Regions from separate parts of the Homo sapiens genome. Here regions 1, 2, 3, 4, 6 and 7 are each linked to region 5. Evidence: promoter capture Hi-C in 16 types of primary human blood cells and fetal thymus (Javierre and others, 2016). All regions are on one chromosome and are shown on one strand. Each heading gives the region's core, a stretch centred on a gene start or on the middle of the fragment in contact. The rest is flanking DNA. Distances are from core to core; before and after follow the strand shown. Region 1 overlaps DORIP1 (dopamine receptor interacting protein 1). Region 2 overlaps FKBP3 (FKBP prolyl isomerase 3). Region 3 overlaps TOGARAM1 (TOG array regulator of axonemal microtubules 1). Region 4 overlaps PRPF39 (pre-mRNA processing factor 39). Region 5 holds the start of FBXO33 (F-box protein 33). Region 6 overlaps TOGARAM1 (TOG array regulator of axonemal microtubules 1). Region 7 overlaps TOGARAM1 (TOG array regulator of axonemal microtubules 1).

Region 1 (2,765 bases), core at 46-2,545, 5.5 Mb after region 5:
TGCAGCCTTGAACTCCCGGGCTCAAGTGATCCTCCTGCCTCATGGCTCACTACTTCAGCCTCTCCAGTAGCTGGGACTACAGGTATATGCCACCATGCCCAGCTAATGTTTTATTTATTTTTTTATTTTTTGAGACAGGGTCTCACTCCATCTCCCAGGCTGAAGTATAATGGTGTGATCACAGCTCACTGCAACGTTGACTTCCTGGGTTCAAGAGATCCTCCTGTCTCAGCACCCCCAAGTAGCTGGCACCAGGGGCATGTACCACCATGCCCGGCTAATTTTTGTATTTTTTTTTAGAGATAGGATCTTGCTGTGTTGCCCAGGTTGGTCTCAAACTTCTGATTCACCCACCTCAGCTTCCCAAAGTGCTGGGATTACAGGCGTGAGCCACCACACCCAGCCTAATATCTTGTTTTTTAAAAACTAGTTTCATCTGTAAATATTTTGAAACTATAATGAAATATTTATAATTCTATATTTTATACTATTGAATAAAATATTTTTCATCATACTCTATAACTTTTAAGTTTTTGCCTACTTTTTAAAAAATCCTATATTTAAAGCAACCTCTGAAGTAATGTAGAAAAAAAGTTTTTTTTAACGGATCAGGTACTTGAGGCCAAGAATGATTATTACTTACATTTAATCAGGTAACTAATCAGCTGCTCCTCTGATTCTGGGTCCTAGTTCCTTCCCACGAGACCAGATTGCCTCTTTTGAATCTTCTCACAAATGTTTTAAATTATCATAGCAGCAACTGGATATATCAGGATTGTTTATACAAAAATATGTTTCTTTGAAAATTTCATAATTAGTGTTTGAGTTCAACTGGTTTCTATACTATCTGCAAGAAATTCTGAATGTGTCATAAAGGTTATACTTGGTATAACTGGTTTTGCTAATAAAGGACTGAGCTGTAAAATTTGTTATAATATATTAAGATATAAAATGTTGAAGCAGTTCTTACATGCATTTAATAATTATTATAGTCCTCCCCAAGAAATTCCACATGGAAACTTGATAAGACTGGCTGTGAATGAGTTATTCTGTTCCAAGATTGAACTGTGTGAAGAGCATGGGTGAGTATACAATAGACATTTAAAATGACAGTATGTATGTGTTTATAAGGAAACCTAGGCAGATGTGCTCCTTGAAGTACTTTATGAATCTTATTAACCTAGTTTACTATGACATTTTACAGTGTTTTTGTTACGGAGTATATCACTACATAGAATATGGTACTACAGCTGATTGATGAATACAAAGCAAATACCTTTTCTTTTTTCCCCCCCCACTGCTGAGTAGGTACAATAAAACCTTGGTTAACTGGAACCCAGCTAATTGGGACCCTCAATTATCTGGATTTTTTTCTGCACTCTCCATTTAGGAGAAAGAGGTAAATGACAACTAAAAAACTTAACCTAGTAAAAGTTGAGAGAAGCAGAACATATTCATCCCAATCTCTTAAAATTTTCTGTGACTACATTATTGTATAATGAGAATTAATATTTAGAAGGATGATCTTATTGCTGATTAATTACAAAAGGAAAGGTAAAAATATGTTCTGTTAATTGTACCTATTAAGTCCAGAAAGTGAACGAATATATTGTAGCAACAAATACTGAAACAGATGGTTTTCTGGTTAATTTGGTTTAGTTAATAATGTTTGTTAACCAGAATACTGTACCCTGAGCATTCCGGTTAATCAAGATTTTACTGTATAATTCAATATGTTATATTCTGATCCATATACTTAATACCTCATAATATGAGGAAACAATTTGTTCATGCTTATAGTCGAGTCTAATGGCAAAAGGAAGCAATTAGAGTCATATTTTTCCCCTCTCTGCCATTATTTGAAACCAGCATATAGAGTGAAATATAAAAGCGTTTGTATCAGTTCTGCAGAGTTATGCTTTCATAGGCTTATACAGAAATAGCCAGCATTTCCTGGAGTTTTAAACGTGTCATTTCTAGTGTAAGGAACACAGCTTATAAACTTCTGGAACTATTAGGTGATATAAGGTAGTAATTACCCTATAACTATAGGTATTAACCATTACCTACACCTATAATAGATAATTATAAGAAAATTAAAGTCATAAAGACAACTCTGAAGTGTTGAAAGCCAGCTTTGTCCCAAGTGTAATAATGTTCATGCCTGTTTTCTATTTTAGGTGTGGTGGCTTAAGAGAATTTTCCCAACGAATTTTCTGCCATGGGGCACCCCCTTTTGTTGTCTTAAATATGCAACATTGGAAATCTGAAGATCTGGCGTATGTACCCTATTACTTGGATTTGTCTGATCACAAGTAGGTGTTTTTGTTGTTGTTTCTTTATAAAACTAATAAAAAAAATTTATCCTGTTATATTATGATTTTGACTAGCCCTTAAGAGATATTGTTGAAAACAATCATATCTGTCTCTAAATTTATGTATTCTGAATAGAATCAGAATTTATTACAGAGAGTCAGTTACTAGCAGTGCACATAGTGGGTAGGTGTGTGGACTACAGAATAGACAGAATTGGGTTCAAATCCTAGCCCCATCTTTTATAAGTTAACCTTGGGCCAACAACTTAACCAGTTTACATGTCAGTTTTCTTATCTATAAAACACAGATGATGGTATCAACCTAGTGCAATTATTGTAAAGATTTAATAAGCACATACTAAGTGTTTAAGATAGTACCTGACACATAATACTGGATAGTATAATAATAGCACAGTATTTTGTGCCTGACACATACTGGCTAATACTTGT
Region 2 (2,910 bases), core at 126-2,625, 5.7 Mb after region 5:
CATTAGTCCTGAAGGAGACATGAGAAAGAAAAAGGGACGCAAAGATTCAGAGAAATTTTAAGCTCAGAAGAAGGGAATGGCAATGGCTAGACATTCACATTTTGGCACTACAGAACACAGGAGCATATAATGAGAAGGGAGTCCAGGGGCAGTGGCTCACGCCTGTAATCCCAACACTTTGGAAGGCCTAGGTGGGCGGATAACTTGAGGTCAGGAGTTCAAGACCAGCCCAGCCAACATGGAGAAACTGCGTCTCTATTAAAAATACAAAAATCAGCTGGGCATGGTGGCGCCTGCCTGGAGTCCCAGCTACTGGGGAGGCTGAGGCAGGAGAATCACTTGAACCCAGGAGGGGGAGGTTGCTGTGAACCAAGATGGCACCACTGCACTCCAGCCTGGGTGAGACTTTGTCTCAAAGACAAAAACAAAAACAAAAAAAGAGAAAGGAGTAAGAAGGGACTGAGAATTTGTGAGAAAATGTCAAATACTTTATGTGAGCAATGAGCAATGTGATGGAGAACTGGGCAAAGGATAGTATAAATGTTGTTGAGTAGCAATGAAACTAGAAAACATGCTTGGCTAATATTAAGCATGAATTTATACCAGGCTCAATAAAAGGTTTTATGATTATATGTTTATAATGCCTGCTCTCCAGTCCCAAAGCATGAAGACAGAGAGTAGACAACGAGGGTTAGCAAGGAAATGGACAAGAGGCTTTTGAATGTAGGACGCTAGGAAAACAGTCACAGTACATAAATGGGCTCAAGCTGGCCAGTTAAACGAAGAGGTTTTAAATAAAATGATAGAGTTTAGGACCCTCATAAGCTTGCTCTAGATTGTCTCTAGCTCTTATGAATTTACCTTTTATTTTCTTAACTCCTTAATGAAATATTATCTGTCTCCTAAAACCATCCTCATTCTAATTTCCTGGAGGGTGAACTATGTTGCCAGTTGCTTCTGAAACCCTTCAATAATAATTGCTCCATTTACCTTAGTAGCTACTCAATAGATATAACATTTATTAAATATTAATTGTGATAAACTTTAAAACTGCTTTGTGTGCACATATACCTATAAACATTAATTTGTGCTTTTTAGCCAATAGGAAAAGATCATGCAAAATTAACTAGCTTTAATCAAATAAACATCTATAATTGTATAACTGAACTTACACTTTCCACAAATACCCAAAAGCTACACTGTCATCAATAGCCTCACCTCTTTACAAGAACTAAAAATAGATTATTATCACTGATACTAAGACTGCTGGCAATGAGTGAGCTTAGATAGTAAGGTATTATCAGAAATGACAAGATTATAATCAATTCAGCTCTGCTAAGTCAGTTCTTAGTAGCTGATCTTAGCTCTACTAAGGCTGTCAATTTGCAGGAATGAATTAATCTGGTTCTTCAAACCTTTGTACCAAAGTATAAAACCTGAGTTGGGAAAACTGAGACAGATGAACCCACATCCTGCAGCCAAGCCTGGATTATTTCTATTGCCAGGGACACCATGTACATTAGAAAAAGCTAAAAATAATCAAAAGAAAATGTATTTCACTTAGTCCAACTTGGCTATAGAATCAAGGCCTTAAAATAGCTTTGAAAGCTCAGAAGGTCTGGACAGATGTGGAGGCGATATTAAATACAATATCAGAAGTGTTTCACAGAATAGGCTAATAACTGTAAAGCACTAGTTCTTAGGATTATTTCTGTCCCAGTACACCTAAGGGAAATGGCCCACTACATTAAGTGTTTGGCTCATTGAAAGTGGTCGTATTCAACCACCCTTCACTATGAGAAGTTAGTGCAAATAATAAAGAAATAAATACAATTTCTAGACTCCACATGATAAAATAAAAAAATAATTATATACAGACCTCATCCAGGGTCTCTTCAGACTTGGTTTCTTTGGGTTTATCTTCATTAAGCTTCACATTTTTTACTTGCTCAGACACTTTACTTATACTTTCAGTACCCTTAAAACGCTGTAAGGAAAATGTTGTAACATCATACCCAGGACAGGCTAAAACCAAGAAGCAACATCAAGATTTTCAGCCTCTCAATTAAATGAACATCTGCATAATAAATATAGGTTGTATAACACAATTGTGAATAAATGGTCTAAGGAAACGAAGAGCAAAGAAAGAATTTTGCTCATAATTTATTTTTAAACAATAAATGATTACCCTCAAACCAGCTTACAATATAAATTCTGAAATGAGAACCATGACCTTAGAAAGGCCAACTCATACCCAGAGATATAAGCACTATTCAAATAACTCCTAAATAAAGATTTCTTTCCTGTGGAAGATATTCATTTCATAGTAAACAAATGTGGGAGAATGTCTTAAAATGTATTTTTGTAAAGCTCAGCCTAAATCTAAACCAGACTTTAAATTCATTAGTGAAATGGAAACTTATTTTCAATATAACATTTAACATATATAATAAAACAACAACAAAATACATTTAATATACACCATATGCTAAAGTAATACGGTAATACCACTGACCTAATGAATTTATAACTTCAGTGGACTTAAGAATTTGTTGTCTCAATTTAAGCTACAAAATCCAGACCCTTTGAAAATACTGAAACATTCTGCCATACTGCAGATTAGCCTTGCTAGATTTGACAGCTAGTCCACTTATGATAACAGTTCAGAAAAATTACAGGTGGAAAAGCTCCAACACATTCAACAAATCAATGCATTTTAAACATCTTTTTTGGAAATAAAATTTCAAAAGTGATGTTCTGCTAACAGAATCTAACAATACTCACCTTAGTTTCAAAAAGATGGTTATAGGCTGTAACCAAGTGGTCCTTGTTAGCTGTCTTGGCCACATTTTTAATGTTTCCTAATAATTTATGTTCTGCAAGAAACTATAAGGAAAAAAGCTGGGTAAT
Region 3 (2,895 bases), core at 249-2,748, 5.6 Mb after region 5:
AATCAGCTGGTGCATGGTGGCACACGTCTGTAGTACCAGCCACTTGGGAGGCTGAGGCACAAGAATCGCTTGAACCTGGGAGGCAGAGGTTGCAGTGAACCGAGATCATGTCACTGCACTCCAGCCTGGGTGACAGAGTGAGACTCCATCTCAAAAACAAAGAAACAACAACAAAAAAACAATAGTTTTCAAGACACTGTTCACCAGGCTATGGAAAGATGTTGATCTCTGAGAGACAGGAAACAAACCAGGTGAGCCCTACAATTACCCAGCTTGCTTTCTGGAGAGAGTTTCCAGGTTGCAGCTAAAGGGAGGGAAAACAGGCAGATAGCATCAGAGATGGACATGGTGCTGAGAGTTTGAGGAGGCCATGGTGACTAGACTTTGCAGGACAGAATGCCAGATAGAGCTCCACAGAGAGCTCCAGAGATCATAAGAGGATTTTACTCAAATGTTTAGCAGACAACTGGTCGGGGCATGCATGTAAATACATTTCCTGAGGCCAGAACAAGAACCACTCAAAAAAGTTACAAGGAACAATGTCAGGAGCATATACAATGTTAATAATACTTCCTGTTCCCACCAGCAGAGTGGAAAAGTTCATAATTCACAGGGCATTGGGTAGAATACTCAGAGTTTTGCTCCATAGTGTAGTAAAATAAACCATAGACTGAATGTTAGTTTGGTTCCTACCCAATGAAGTTTAAAAGCAAGGCCTAAGATGATCAAACATTTGATCCTTATTTGAAATACATTTTCAAATAACTATATCCCAGAACAAAGCTGAAGAATATTTATAGGAATACAAAAATAGCTAAAGTGAAATTACCAGGCATGCAGAGAAGCAGGAAAATATAACCAATAGTGAGAAGAAAAAAAGCCAAGTGAAACCAATGCAAAAATGACACAGGTGATAGAATTAGTAGACAAAGACATTGTAACTGTAACTACTGCATGCATTAAAGAGGCTGGAGGAAAGGTTGAGCAAGTAAAGAGATATAATATATATAAGAAACCCAAAACTAATATCTACAGATGAAAGCTATAATGTCTGAGATAGGAAATACACTGGATGAGATTAATAGGTTAGACATTCCAGAAGAAAAGATTAGTGAAGTTGAAGACGTAACCATTGAAACTATTCAAAATGAAACAATGAAGCCTGACCAATAAGGCAAAATCCTGTGTCTACCAAAAATACAAAAATTAGCTGGGTGTGGTGATGCACACCTGTAGTCCCAGCTACTGGGGCGACTGGGGCAGGAGAATCGCTTAAACCCGGGAGGCGGAGGTTGCAGTGAGCTGAGATCGTACCACTGCACCCAGCCTGGGCAACAGGGTGAGACTCTGTCTCAAGTAAAAAAAAAAAATCAAAATGAAACAATGAGAGAAACAAGACTGAAAAAAAAGTCCAAAAAATCTGTCAATTGTGGGACAACTTCAAGTTATGTGTAATTGGAGTTACCAGACAGAGAAGGAGACAGAAAAGAATATTTGTAGAAAAAAATGGACAAAATTTGTTCAAATTGGATGAAAACTATAAACCCAAAGATCTAAGAAGTTCAGTGAACACCAAACACAAGAAACATGAAAAGAAATATTTCAAAGGAGATATAATCAAAAGGCCTAAAATTAGGGATGGAGAAAATCTTAAAAATAGCTAGGGGCAAGACATTACATATAGAACAAAGATCAGACTACTCATCAAATACACTGCAAACCAAAAAACAGTTCAGTGAGATCTTTAAAGTACTGAAAGGAAAAACAAACTGTCAATCTAGAATTCTATATCCAATGAAAATATCTTTCAAAAATAAAAGTAGTGGGCCAGGCATGGTGGCTCACACTTGTAATCCCAGCACTTTATGAGGCCAAGCCAGGAAGATTGCTTGAGCCCAGAAGTTAAAGACCAGCCTTTGCAATATAGCAAGACCTCATCTCTAGAAAAAAAAAAAAAAAGAAAGAAAAAAAATTTAAAATCTGGATGCAGTGATGTGTTTCTGTAGTCCCAGCTAATCAGGAGGCTGAGGCAGAAGGATTGCCTGAATCCAGGGGTTCGAGGCTGCAGTGAGCTGTGATTGTGCCACTACACTGCAGCCTGAGCAACAGAACAAGACCTTGTCTCTAAAAAAAAAAAAAAAAAAAAAAAAAAAGTTTTAAAAGAAGCAAAATGTCTGACAGTTTGATACAAAGGCCCAAAGGGAAGACATGGCAGTATTGCTTTACCAAGGCAACAAAGGAGATAAAATATAACTATAAAAATAATTATAAAGAAAAGATGGGACAAATAGAAAACAAACAGCAAGATGATAGACTTAAACCCAATCATCTAATCACATTAAATGTAGATGAACTAAACACCCTAGTGAGATTAGATTAAAAAGCAAGACCCAACTATATGCTACCTATAAGAAATTCTGTTTAAATATATAGATACAAATAAGTTAAAAGTAGAGATTCAAAAAGATGTATACCATGCTAACACTAATCAAAAGATAGATTACATGGCCATATTAATATCAAAGTATATTTCAAAGCAAAGAATATTAATGAGAGTATTTATTTTATATTGTTATGTAACAAATTGCCACAAACTCAGTGGATTCAAACCACACAAATTGATTAACTCTCAGTTTTCTGGGTCAAGAGATCAGATATAAGTTAACTCAGCTCTTTGCTCAAAATACCACTAGGCTGAAATCAAAGTATCAGCCAGGGATGTGATCTCTTCTTTCAATTTTCTTAGAAGCTCATTGTTTGGAAGAATTGTCTTCCTTGTAGATGTGCAACTGTGGTTTTCATTTTTGTATTAGTCCGTTTTCATGCTGCTGATAAAGACATATCCAAGAGGAGAAGAAAAATAGGTTTAATTGGATTTAACAGTTCCACATGACT
Region 4 (2,714 bases), core at 34-2,533, 5.7 Mb after region 5:
TATATCTTTATGACTGTAATACCTTTTCCTCTTTCCACTTGTCTAGTGGACTTATATTCCCTGAGACCACACAGTTTTGTGTCTTCTCTGTGAAATTTTCTCTGGTTCTCCTATACTGAGATACCTAGTCTGTTATTTGTGCCATGACTTTACCTACATTTATTTACATTTATATTAGCACCAGTAACACTGCTTTGAATTTATGTCTCTTATATCCTCAACATGCCTGTCAGTTTCTGAGGCTTAATTCTTTGTATCTCTAATATTTAGGAATAGAGCTCAATATATATTAGGCAGTCAGCCAGTCTTTACTGAATAAATGTTAGCTTTATAATACAAAAAACTGCTGAAAAAATACTGCTTAATATTATGCACATTTTGTCACTGTTTTAAAGAAGTTGTTACATGATGTAGCAATAAGTCATTTTAGATTTATGTACTGTATGTAGTTATTTTGAAATTTTACCTTAAGTTTTTAATTCATTTGTTGACCATTCTGAGTTTTAATATTCATCTGTAATTAAATCTGTTTTTTCATACTACATATTTGAGAGTTACTTCCTTATTTTTAATTTTTTAACATAAGGCAATCTTTGTTAATTTTTTTCCACCTGGTGCTGAAATGGGCCGTTAGCCTCTGTATCCATTGACTTTGCAAAATTTAAATTAGATTCCAATGTTATTTATATACTTTTTTTTTTTTTTTTTTTGAGGTGAAATCTCGCTCTGTTGCCCAGGCTGGATTGCAGTGGTGCAGTCTTGGCTCACTGCAGCCTCCACCTCCCAGGTTCAAGTGATTCTCCTGCCTCAGCCTCCCGAGTAGCTGGGATTACAGGTGCCCGCCCCGACACGGAGCTAATTTTTGTATTTTTGGTACAGATGGGTTTCAGCGTGTTTGCCAGGCTGGTCTCAAACTCCTGACCTCAGGTGATCCGCCCACCTCAGCCTCCCAAAGTGCTGGGATTACAGGCGTCAGCAGGCGCCTGACCTGTTTGCTTACTTTTTAGTAACATTTCTGATAGTAGTATAGAGGTGGGAATGGGAGTTGTGAGACTAGAGGCTGCAAGGTCATTTTATGTTTATCCAGCTTAAAAGTCCCGAGGTGATGAACATGTATTTAAAAGGTACAGTCAGTAGGACCTGGTATCTAATGTAAATGAAAAGCTAGGTGGAAGAGATTGAGAGATGTAGTGGTTGACAGTACCATTAATCAATATTAGAAATGCTGAGGGTGGCGGGGCACGGTGGCTCACACCTGTAATCCCAGCACTTTGGGAGGCTGAGGCGGGTGGATCACCTGAGGTCAGGAGTTCGAGACCAGGCTGCCAACAAGGTGAAACCCCGTCTCTACTAAAATTAGAAAAATTAGCTGGGCGTGGTGGTGCGCACCTGTAATCCCAGCTACTTGGGAGGCTGAGGCAGGAGAATTGCTTGAACCCGGGAGGTGGAGCTTGCAGTGAGCCAAGATAGAACGATTGCACTCTAGCCTGGGCAACAGAGCAGGACTCCATCTCACACAAGAAAATAAAGAAAGAAATACTGAGGGTATTCATTTTCAGATGAAGATGCCATACTTATTTTAAAATATTTCATATTTGAGGTTCCAAAGGTATATTCAAATTGTGATAGTGTAGATATTTTAGCTCCTCAACCTGGTATTTTTGATTACAATTTGTATGTATACAAATTATTGCATGTTTTTATAAAATAGTGAAATGATATTTTTTTCAAAAATCTTTTTATAGATTAGCTTAAAACTAATCCACATTTCTTTGTGCAGAGTATTGGCAGTTGTATATGCTAATGTGATTAGGAGAAAGGTTTGGACTTGTGTTGTAGTTTTGAGAGTCATCATGGTATACTTATTTCAAGCTGTATGAATGAGATTGGCCAGAAGTATGTATTAATAAAAATAGATGAGAACCAAATGGAGAGTGGAATACTTGGGTATAGTAGCATTTAGGGCAGGTAAGAAGGGGAATAAGACATAGAGCAGCAGTCAGAGGCTTGGAGGACCATACTACAAAACAAGTGTCCATTTAATTTTATATATGAGGTAATTGATAATCTTAATTGGGCAGTTTCATTGGATTTTTGCGTACTCACATGTGGATGAGGAGTATTTGGGAGGTGGGAAGGAAATGCTATATTTGTTGGTTATTTACAAGTGATCATTTAGAATTTAAATATGGATTACAGTATTTAATTTTACTGTAACTTTTATGTCTTTGTAGTAAAATAGATTCTATGACACACGAATAGGTATTATCATCTTATTTTACAATTGAGGAAACTAAGATTTAGAGAAAAGAAAACCTTCCCTAGTCAGATAACCAGTAACAGACAGAACTGAGGTTTGAATTTATGCCCGTCCATGCCTTCTCCATTCCACTGTAAAGGTAGGAAGAAATTGAAGATGTCTATAGACTGTTTTATCATATGGTAGTGTTTTATCATATATGGTAGGATTTTACTATAGAAAAGAAGGAGAAAAGGTATGATATTTTGGTTTCTTTTTTAAATCAAATCCTTTGAAAGAGTAGTATATAGTAGGAATCTCAATATGAGATCTAAAATTATGATTCAAATACATATATTTTTATTGTCTTCCTTTAGATTTAAAGAACATGTACAGAATAATTTGCCTAGAGATCTTTTAACTGGTGAACAGTTTATTCAGTTGCGAAGGGAATTAGCTTCTGTAAATGGTCATA
Region 5 (2,700 bases), core at 5-2,504:
TCGTGTTATGTGTATGTTTTGTTTCTTCCAAGGCTCACCCACAGGCCTCACCCTCCCAGTCTTAACGCTCCCATATATAAAATGAAAAGTGACAGCGCCTGTCAGCTCCATCCCACGGCCACCAAGAGGATGAATGAGTGCCTGGAAGGCGCCAGAAGTGGTGTCTGTTAAACACCCCGTCCACCACTGTTTATAAAGTATCGTGATGAGTCCCGTTATGCCTTTCCGCTCAAGGAAACCGCCTAGTTAGAACCAACACTCTCCGTCACTGAGGAAGGCAACACTGAAGTTGGCCGGGCACGTATTATGCACAGAATCTGTGTCGGGGTGCGGGGACGGAGCGACCCCCCGTTACCGGGCGGGGCGGGGCTCAGGGCAAGCCTACCTGTTGTTCCGGATGCTGACCAGCACGCAAAGCACCAGCTCCAAGTAGGTGCGCAGCACTTCCAGCCAACGAGCTGAGAGCTGCAGGGCCTCGACTTCCTCCCCTCCAGTCCCGGTGTCCGCGCCACCTCCGTCCCCTGGGCCACCGCCGCTCAGATAGTTCTCGGCGGCGAATTCAACACGCAGCTCTCGCACGAACCAGCCGCACTTGCGCATGAGGAATTCCAGCCGAGGCTGCTCCGCGGGCGAGACGCGGAGGCAGATGCGGAGCTGGGGCCACAGGGCCGGATAGAAGAGGCACTCACGCCAGTGCGAGCAGGAGGCCGAGGCCCGCAGCCGGTCGGGCGCCGGCAGAAAAGAGAAGATGTGCACGATCAGCTCGCTGGGCAGCGACGCAGCGCCCGCCGCCTGCCCGCACAGAGCCATCCGGCCCCGCCGCCGGCTGCCGGCTCCCGGCCGCCCCCGCAGTACCCGGAGCAGCCCCCGCAGCCGTCGCAGCTGCTGCAGCCGCAGCCGCCGCCACCGCGCCACCCGGGCGGCCCCGGCTCGGGTTCGAGCTCCCGGCGGTCGGGGCTGCGGCACTGACAAGAACAACAACATCAATGACTAGGAAGAAGGGGGCGGAACCGTCGTGGGTCTCGGCGGAACCAAGTAGAACACAAGTTGTGGAGAGGGGGAAAGGCCTCTGCGGGCGTGGCCTGCCGGGAGCCAGCCTCTGTCTTCTCAAACTCTACTCACGTGCGTCCGAGGCCGGCACACTGAGTAACTGCACTGCCCTCGCTCGTAAACTTCAGCGGCCCGGAAGCCTCAAGGCGTACTGTAAGGAAAAGGCAGCCCTCCCTGCGCCGGTCGGCAGAGACAGAGAAGTGGTAGGAGCTGAGTTTGACGTCGCCGCTGGTGGGAGGAGTCCGGCGCGCACCGGCGCGACTTCCGGAAGAGGGGAGCGCCCGATTGCCTGTAGGGACGGGAGGCGCGGCACGTGATCTCTGACGCACGCAGGCCGCGGGGCGGGGCGGGGCTGGGCGGGGCGGGGCGGGGCGGGGCTGGGCGGGACTGGAACCGGCACTTGGCACCCCTTACGCCTTACGGTGGCCGCTGCGCCCAGTCACATCTGTAAGTCGGTTAATTTTGGCGCTCGGTCGATGGAGGTGGCGGTACTCTGGTTTAGTGCGAAAGGTCGTCACGCTTCTTTGTAAAACGTTTCTCAGTTTGGGCTGAGGACCCTGAGCCAAAGTGGCGGCATGCAGGGTCTTTCTCAGCCATCCCACCTGCCCAGAGTAGGGTTAAGAATTCCTGAGATTGCGCCGCTGAGAGGGAGCTGGCGGACGGGCGGGCTAACCCCGGCGGGCTGTGCCGGGAGGGGCGGTGTGGGGCGTGGCGGAGGCCGCGAATGGACCTGCCCCCTCGGTCCAACCACGCAGGTGGACTTCCGCGCACTCGCTGGTGTGTGGGGAAGCAGTGAGGACAGCGTCACCCTTTGGATTCAGAGGGAGAGAAAAAAATTGGCAAAGGGATCTGAGATCCGCAGGTTGTGACCAGCCTCTTCTCCAGGGCTTGAGGAAGGGTCTCTTTTCCCTGTGCTGAGATTTAAGGCTCTCGTTGAAAAGTTCACAGTAATGACAGAGCTTTGATTTTTTTTCTTTCTTCTTCTTCTTTTTTTGCCTGGTATCCCTAACTTAGATTTTCCAAACCATGTCCCTAACTTCACCACAGCCTACTGCAAAGTAAACTCTGGTTGCAAAGAGTGGTGAAGTCAGAAAAGATTAAGTGACTTTATGTAATAATCGAGGGTTGCTTTAGGGAGGCTGCCTCTTTATGTAATAATTGAGAGTTGCTTTAGGGAGGCTGTGATGTTGGAATAGCATCGTTCTTTTGTGGTAAACACCAAGACTTTTTGGACTTTTTTTTTTTTTTTTGGTTTTAAGGAGCGGAGAATTTAATAGGCAAGAAAGAAGGAAGAAGGCTGAAGGAAGAAGCTCCCCACTACAGAGACAGACGGAGGGGGCTCCCAAGACGAAAGAGGAGACCCCCATTCTAGATGTTCTTAACCCTTTGAGGGCAAAGCTCTCCGTTTAATGCCTTGCACATATCAGGTTGCCAACAACATGGTGTGGTTTATCAATTGTGATAGGTTACTTATTCGAGCCCCTGTTTACAAGAGTTTTAGGTAATTATACCTTATTAATTTTAATGAACTCTTAGAGGGCGACCCCAGTCGTGGGTTCGGCAGGATGAAACACTACCCATTTACCAGTTTACAGACATTTAGGTCGTTTCGAGTTATGAATAATGCTGTGAACATTCATGTGCAAGTCT
Region 6 (2,900 bases), core at 293-2,792, 5.5 Mb after region 5:
TATGATGTTGTTGAGTTCAACTGTGTCTTTACTGATTTTTCTGCCTGCTGGATCTGTCCATTTCTGATTGAGGGGTAATTAAGTCTCCAACTATAATAGTGGGCTTGTGTATTTTTTCTTGTAATTCTATCAGTCTTTGCCTCATTTAATTTGACACTGTTGTTGGGCACACATTAAGAATTGTTTTGTTTTCTTGGAATATTAATCCTGTTGCTATTATGTGAGGCCCCTCTTTATCCCTGATAACTTTTCTTGCTCTGAAGTCTGCTGTGTCTGAAATTAATATAGCTACTCTTGATTTCTTTTGATTAATGTTAGCATGGTGTACCTTTCTCCATCTCTTTACTTTTAATTTATATCTATCTTTATATTTAAAATGGGTTTCTTGTAGACAGCCTATATAGTAATTACTCATTTAAGTTCCTTGATAGGCTCTTGGAAACCGTGACTTTCAGTGAAATGACATACAGTAAGTCCTCAAATAACGTTATTTTGTTCAACATCATTTTGCTATAATGTTGATGAGGAAAAAAATTGGTTTTGTTATACATCGTTGTGCTTAAAGTGGCAGTCTTGAATAACTTATCAGTAACATTAAGTGAGAACTTACTGAACTTGGGTTTTGTTTTTTGACCACTCTGACAATCTGTCTTTTAATTGTTAGACATTTAAAGAGTTTATTGATATAGTTGGATTAATATCTACCATAATTGTTGTTTTCTATTTGTTGCTCATGATCTTTGTTCCTGTTTTTGTCTTCTGTTTTTTGGCTCCTTGTGGTTTTAATTGAGAATTTAACATGATTCAGTTTTCTCTTCTTTCTTAGCATATCAGTTATGCTGCTGCTCCTTTTTTTTTAAATTACTTTTTTTTAGTAGTTTCCCTAGAGTGTGTAATACACATTTACAACTAACTAATCCACGTTCACTTTCAGTAACAATATACTGCTTCACAGGTAACCCAAGTACCTTATAATAACAGAATATTTGTAATTTCTTCCTCCCTGTCACCTGTTTAATGCTGTCATTCATTTCATTTATACATAAACACACAGACACACACATAAGCATACATAATCAAATACATTGTTGCTATTATTATTTTGAATGATTTTCTGTTAGATCTGTTAAAAATATGAAAAATAAGTTTTTTTTTTAACCTTTACTTATTCTCCTCCAGTGTACTTTCTCTCTCTCTCTCTCTCTATATATACATATATATATATCTCTCTCCAGGTTTTTGACCTATATAATTTTCCTTTTCTCTGAAAAACTTCAATGTTTCTTACAAGGCAGGTCTTACTAACAACAACTTCTTTCAATTTCTGTTTGTCTGAGAATGTCTTTATTTTTCTTCACTTGTGAAAGATTATTTCCCAGGGTATAGACTTCTAAATTGATGGGTTTTTTTTTTCTCTCAATACTTTAAATATTCCAATCCACTTTCTTCTTCTTTGTATGGTTTCTGAGAAGTTAGATGTAATTCTTATCTTTGCTCCCCTATAGGTAATGTTCTGTTTTGTTTTGTTTTTCCTTTATCTTCTTTCAGGATTTTTCTTTATTTTTGATTTTTTGTAGTTTGAAGATGATATGCCTAGGTGTAGTTTTTCTGACCTTTCTCCTGGTTTTTCTCTGAGTTTCCTAGATCTGTGGTTAGGTTTCTGACATTAATTGGGGGAAATTCTCAGTAATTATTGCCTCAAATATTTCCTCTATTCTTTTCTATATTCTCTTCCTAGTAATCCCATTATACATATGTTACACGTTTTGTAGTTTTCCCACAGTTCTTGTATATTCTCTTCTCTTTTTTTCAGGCTTTTTTCTTTCAGTTTTGGAAGTTTTTATTGTCACATCCTCAAGCTCAGAGATACTTTCCCCAGCTATGTCCAGTTTACTAATGAGCCCATTAAAGGCATTCTTTCTTTCTGTTACAGTGTTTTTGATTTCTAGGTTTCTTTTGTGTTCCTTCTTAGAAGTAACGCTTCATGACTTATATTATCCTTTTGTTCTTACATGTTGTCTTTTTTCATTATAGCCCTTAGTATATTAATTATAGTTTTAGAAAATTCTGGTATGTTAACTTCAACATTCCTGCCATATCCAATTCTAGTTATGATGCTTGTTCTGTCTTTTCAGACTTTGTTTTTCCCTTTTACTGTGCCTTATTATTTTTTGTTGATAGGTAGACATAATGTAAGTAAAAGGAACTGTGGTAAATAGTTTTTTAGTAATATACTGTTAAGGTGTGGGAGGTGGGGAAGTGATCTATAGTGCTTTAATTACACTTTTGATGAGCGTAATTTTATGGTTGGCATAAAATATCTTAGCATTTTAAAAAAGAGAATTCTTGATGCCTTTACCCCTTTCGGTGTGTGTGTCTGGAAAAAAAAGTTAATACAACATTCCTGCCATATCTGATGCTGGTTCTGATGCTTGTTCTGTCTCTTCAGACTTTGTTTTTACCTTTCACTGTGCCTTATAAATTTTGTTGACAGGTAGATGTGATATACTAAATAAAAGAACTGTGGTAAATAGGTCTTTAGTAATGTACAATTAAGGTGAGGGAGGGGGGAAGTGTTCTGTAGTGCTTTAATTACACTTTTGATGAGTGTAATTTTATGGTTGGCTCTCCCAATTTCTTTAGCATTTTAACAAAGAGATTCTTGCTTCCTTTACCCCTCTCTGTGTATATTTTTTATATACCAGAAAGCAATAATTTTGCTCCAAATTGCTAAATGATTAAAAACAGAATTTTCCCCTTTCTGTGTATGTTTTCATTAGCCACTTTGACACAGATCAACTGAAAACATCCAATAACTACATTATACTGGAATGAATGAACTCAATGGATGCCCCCCCACCAGGTGAAAGCCTAAACATAATATAAAAATAAATACTGAG
Region 7 (2,920 bases), core at 214-2,713, 5.6 Mb after region 5:
TGTATTTTAGGTAGTAAAGAATAGGATTCTGAAGAATCAGAACCCTGGTAAGTTTTGGCTAGGGAAAAACAGAGAATGAGAAATACAGGACCTAGGGAGGGTTGACTCAGGCCAGAACATCTGGCCCTTAGGTGGACAGCAAATGGTCAATGGGCAAGGAGCCCAGGATGGAGGAAAACTTCACAATTCTCCCAAATGCCAGCATTGATATGGACCTTGGGGTGCCTGAAAAATAGAATCAAAGCTTTTGTCTCTCCATCTGGCACATGGCAGAAGGATTTGAAGACAGTGACTTTAAAGGGGGATTATGGGAGCATCCCAACAGATGCTTTTTTTTTTTTTTTTTTTTTTTTGAGACGCAGTCTCACTCTGTTGCCCAGGCTGGAGTGCAATGGTGTGATCTCGGCTCACTGCAACCTCCACCTCCTGGATTCAAATGATTTTCCTGCCTCAGTCTCCTGAATAACTGGGATTACCTGAGCACGCCAACACATCTGGCTAATTTTTGTATTTTTTTAGGAGAGACGGGGTTTCATCATGTTGGCCAGGCTGATCTCGAACTCCTGACCTTGTGATCCACCTGCCTTGGCCTCCCAAAGTGCTGGGATTACAGGCGTGAGCCACTGTACCTGGCCACAGATGCTTCTTAACTTACAATGAGGTTATATCCCAATAAACCCATCATGAATAGGAATTATCATAAGCCAAAAGTGCATTTAAACACCTAACCTACCAAACATCATAATGTAGCCAAGCCTTACCTTAAACATGCTGAGAACACTTACATTAGCCTACGCTTAGACAGAATCATCTGGCAACACAGTACATTGTAGAGTATGGTGATCATATGGCTGAGTGGGAGCTGTGGCTCGCTGCTGCTGCCCAGCATCTTAAAAGAGTGTCATACTGCATATGACTAGCCATGGAAAAAGTCAAAATTCAAAGTATGGTTTCCACAGAATCATATCTCTTTCACACTATTATAAAGTTGAAAAATTATAAGTCAAACCGTTGTAAGTCGGAGACCATCTGTACCCTCTAGGGTATCCTATACAGTTAGGATATCTATATTTTCATGGTTATTTAATATAGGGATGGTAATCTTGATGTTTGATAGGTGTTTTTTTTCTATTGAAACAATGCATCTAAGGTCAGCAACTGAGCTTATTAATGTCTAAAAAGTAATATACCTGTTTTTCAAATACTCACAGGTATTATGGTCGAAAGATGCTGTTCTTCATGATGTGTCATCCTAACTTTGAAAAAATGCTTGAAAAGTATGTCCCATCTAAAGATTTGCCATATATTAAGGACTCTGTTAGAAACTTACAGCAAAAGGTATGTGGGAAAAGTTTGTTTTATAAACAGCTTTATAAGCAAAGCTTGTTTTTACATCCAGGTAAAGGATAGGAATAATTATTTATTTGATTATTTCTCTGTTAATCATTTGGACTATTGGACTATATCTGCAATAGCATTTCAACAATTACAATACTAAGTAGACATACATATTGTCAAGCCTTGGAAGTAAATGTTTATTGCACAGAAGCTTGATGTTTGGTAGAATATAGTTTGGCTTATTGGAGTTAACAAGACATGGGTTTGAATTGCAGCTCTAACAGTTAGCAACTGTGTAACTTACACATGCCTCTTCATTTCTCTAACTAGAATTCTCACTTTATAAAATGAGGATAATAATGTTTACCATGTTTAGTCCCTGCTTTATTTACCTTGCATGTCCCACTATTAGAGCTATTACCACACTGCAGAACATTTTTAGGGAGCTCCTTGAGGGTAAGTGCAATGTCTTTTTTTTTTTTTTTTTTTTCTTTTGAGACAGAGTCTTGCTGTGCCACTAGGCTAGAGTGCAGTGGTGTGATCTCGGCTCACTACAACCTCCACCTCTTGGGTTCAAGCGATTCTCCTGCCTCAGCCTCTCGAGTAGCTGGGATTACAGGTGCCCACCACCACGCCCAACTAATTTTTTGTATTTTTTAGTAGAGACGGGGTTTCACCATGTTGGCCAGGCTTGTCTTGAACTCCTGACCTCAGGTGATCCGCCTGACTCGGCCTCCCAAAGTGCTGGGATTACAGGCGAGAGCCAATGCGCCCAGCCATGCCATGTCTTATTTGTCCTGGTAGATAATGGGAATTCAGTAATGTCTGATAAATGAGTGACTGAGAGAATACCAAGTGAAATAAAATATGAAAAGTAATCTATTTACATATTAATTTAAAAATATGTTTAATTTAATAAAGTAAAATTTTTCTATTGTAATTTATGTCATTTCTCTCTGATGACCTTGGGATAAGGACTCACTTGTGAAGGAATAATATTACAAAAATAATGTAGCAATAGACATTTTAGAGCATTTTTTTCTGCCCGTTGAGCCTGAAGGTTTCAGCTTAGTTCATATTAGAACTTATTAATATAACCATGCAAAAAAAAATAATCTGACTAAAATGAAGCAGATTGCATCTGTGAGTCTTTCCAGTACAGGAAAAGTTTTAAATAGTTCTCATCAAAATGTTTATTCTCACACTCCTAATGTTGCATAGGAACAACAGTGTTCAGTGTTTATGGACTGTGTTCATATATTCTACATAGATTTTAAGCTTTAAGAAGAGTAGTTACGAAATACAGCATATTATTATTATTATTATTATTATTTTGAAACAGAGTCATGCTCTGTCGCTCAGGCTGGAGTGCAGTGGCATGATCTTAGCTCACTGCAACCTCTGCCTCTGGGTTCAAGGAATTCTCCTGCCTCAGCCTCCCAAATAGCTAGGATTACACCACCATGCCCAGCTAGTTTTTGTGCTTTTAGTTGAGACAGGGTTTCCCCATGTTGGCCAGGCTGGTATCAAACTCCTGACCTCAGATGATCCACCTGCCTCAGCCTCCCAAAGTGCTGGGATT

The links. The method cuts DNA at HindIII sites, captures the fragments that hold promoters and counts their contacts. A CHiCAGO score of 5 or more calls a contact.
Region 1: a contact is called between a fragment that was not itself captured here and the fragment with the promoter of FBXO33 in region 5, in 15 of 17 cell types (total CD4 T cells, non-activated CD4 T cells, activated CD4 T cells and 12 more). The highest score is 42.4, in total CD4 T cells.
Region 2: a fragment that was not itself captured here is called in contact with the fragment with the promoter of FBXO33 in region 5 in 13 of 17 cell types (total CD4 T cells, total B cells, non-activated CD4 T cells and 10 more); the score reaches 36.3 in total CD4 T cells.
Region 3: a fragment that was not itself captured here is called in contact with the fragment with the promoter of FBXO33 in region 5 in 2 of 17 cell types (naive B cells and M2 macrophages); the score reaches 12.0 in naive B cells.
Region 4: a fragment that was not itself captured here is called in contact with the fragment with the promoter of FBXO33 in region 5 in 10 of 17 cell types (total CD4 T cells, activated CD4 T cells, non-activated CD4 T cells and 7 more); the score reaches 18.8 in total CD4 T cells.
Region 6: a contact is called between a fragment that was not itself captured here and the fragment with the promoter of FBXO33 in region 5, in 12 of 17 cell types (activated CD4 T cells, non-activated CD4 T cells, naive B cells and 9 more). The highest score is 20.0, in activated CD4 T cells.
Region 7: a contact is called between a fragment that was not itself captured here and the fragment with the promoter of FBXO33 in region 5, in 9 of 17 cell types (total B cells, activated CD4 T cells, naive B cells and 6 more). The highest score is 20.0, in total B cells.

Annotation. Positions count from the first base shown.
Region 1 is chr14:44,902,215-44,904,979 of GRCh38, forward strand. It overlaps DORIP1 (dopamine receptor interacting protein 1), which reads left to right. Exons shown (of 5, transcript NM_001017923.2): 3 at 993-1,082; 4 at 2,181-2,315. All of the region lies in intron 1 of LOC101927418 (a long non-coding RNA gene), which reads right to left. Among named protein-coding and RNA genes, the nearest start is that of DORIP1, 6.3 kb to the left of the region's middle. The HindIII fragment of the contact is 5,407 bases long and covers 1-2,765 here.
Region 2 is chr14:45,127,915-45,130,824 of GRCh38, forward strand. FKBP3 (FKBP prolyl isomerase 3) reads right to left here. Exons shown (of 7, transcript NM_002013.4): 2 at 2,785-2,886; 3 at 1,880-1,987. Among named protein-coding and RNA genes, the nearest start is that of FKBP3, 5.1 kb to the right of the region's middle. The HindIII fragment of the contact is 1,105 bases long and covers 824-1,928 here.
Region 3 is chr14:45,034,005-45,036,899 of GRCh38, forward strand. All of the region lies in intron 11 of TOGARAM1 (TOG array regulator of axonemal microtubules 1), which reads left to right. Among named protein-coding and RNA genes, the nearest start is that of PRPF39-DT, 49 kb to the right of the region's middle. The HindIII fragment of the contact is 6,169 bases long and covers 1-2,895 here.
Region 4 is chr14:45,104,835-45,107,548 of GRCh38, forward strand. PRPF39 (pre-mRNA processing factor 39) reads left to right here. Exons shown (of 14, transcript NM_017922.4): 6 at 2,617-2,714. Among named protein-coding and RNA genes, the nearest start is that of SNORD127, 4.7 kb to the right of the region's middle. The HindIII fragment of the contact is 6,663 bases long and covers 1-2,714 here.
Region 5 is chr14:39,431,179-39,433,878 of GRCh38, forward strand. It overlaps FBXO33 (F-box protein 33), which reads right to left and starts at 1,255. Exons shown (of 4, transcript NM_203301.4): 1 at 386-1,255. The coding sequence starts at 984. LOC105370461 (a long non-coding RNA gene) reads left to right here and starts at 1,261. Exons shown (of 8, transcript XR_007064121.1): 1 at 1,261-1,341. RefSeq lists silencers at 244-373, 814-943, 1,684-1,853 and an enhancer at 1,044-1,293. The HindIII fragment of the contact is 7,836 bases long and covers 1-2,700 here.
Region 6 is chr14:44,972,393-44,975,292 of GRCh38, forward strand. The region is part of intron 1 of TOGARAM1 (TOG array regulator of axonemal microtubules 1); the gene reads left to right. Among named protein-coding and RNA genes, the nearest start is that of TOGARAM1, 12 kb to the left of the region's middle. The HindIII fragment of the contact is 4,950 bases long and covers 1-2,900 here.
Region 7 is chr14:45,051,225-45,054,144 of GRCh38, forward strand. TOGARAM1 (TOG array regulator of axonemal microtubules 1) reads left to right here. Exons shown (of 20, transcript NM_001308120.2): 15 at 1,212-1,338. Among named protein-coding and RNA genes, the nearest start is that of PRPF39-DT, 31 kb to the right of the region's middle. The HindIII fragment of the contact is 167 bases long and covers 1,381-1,547 here.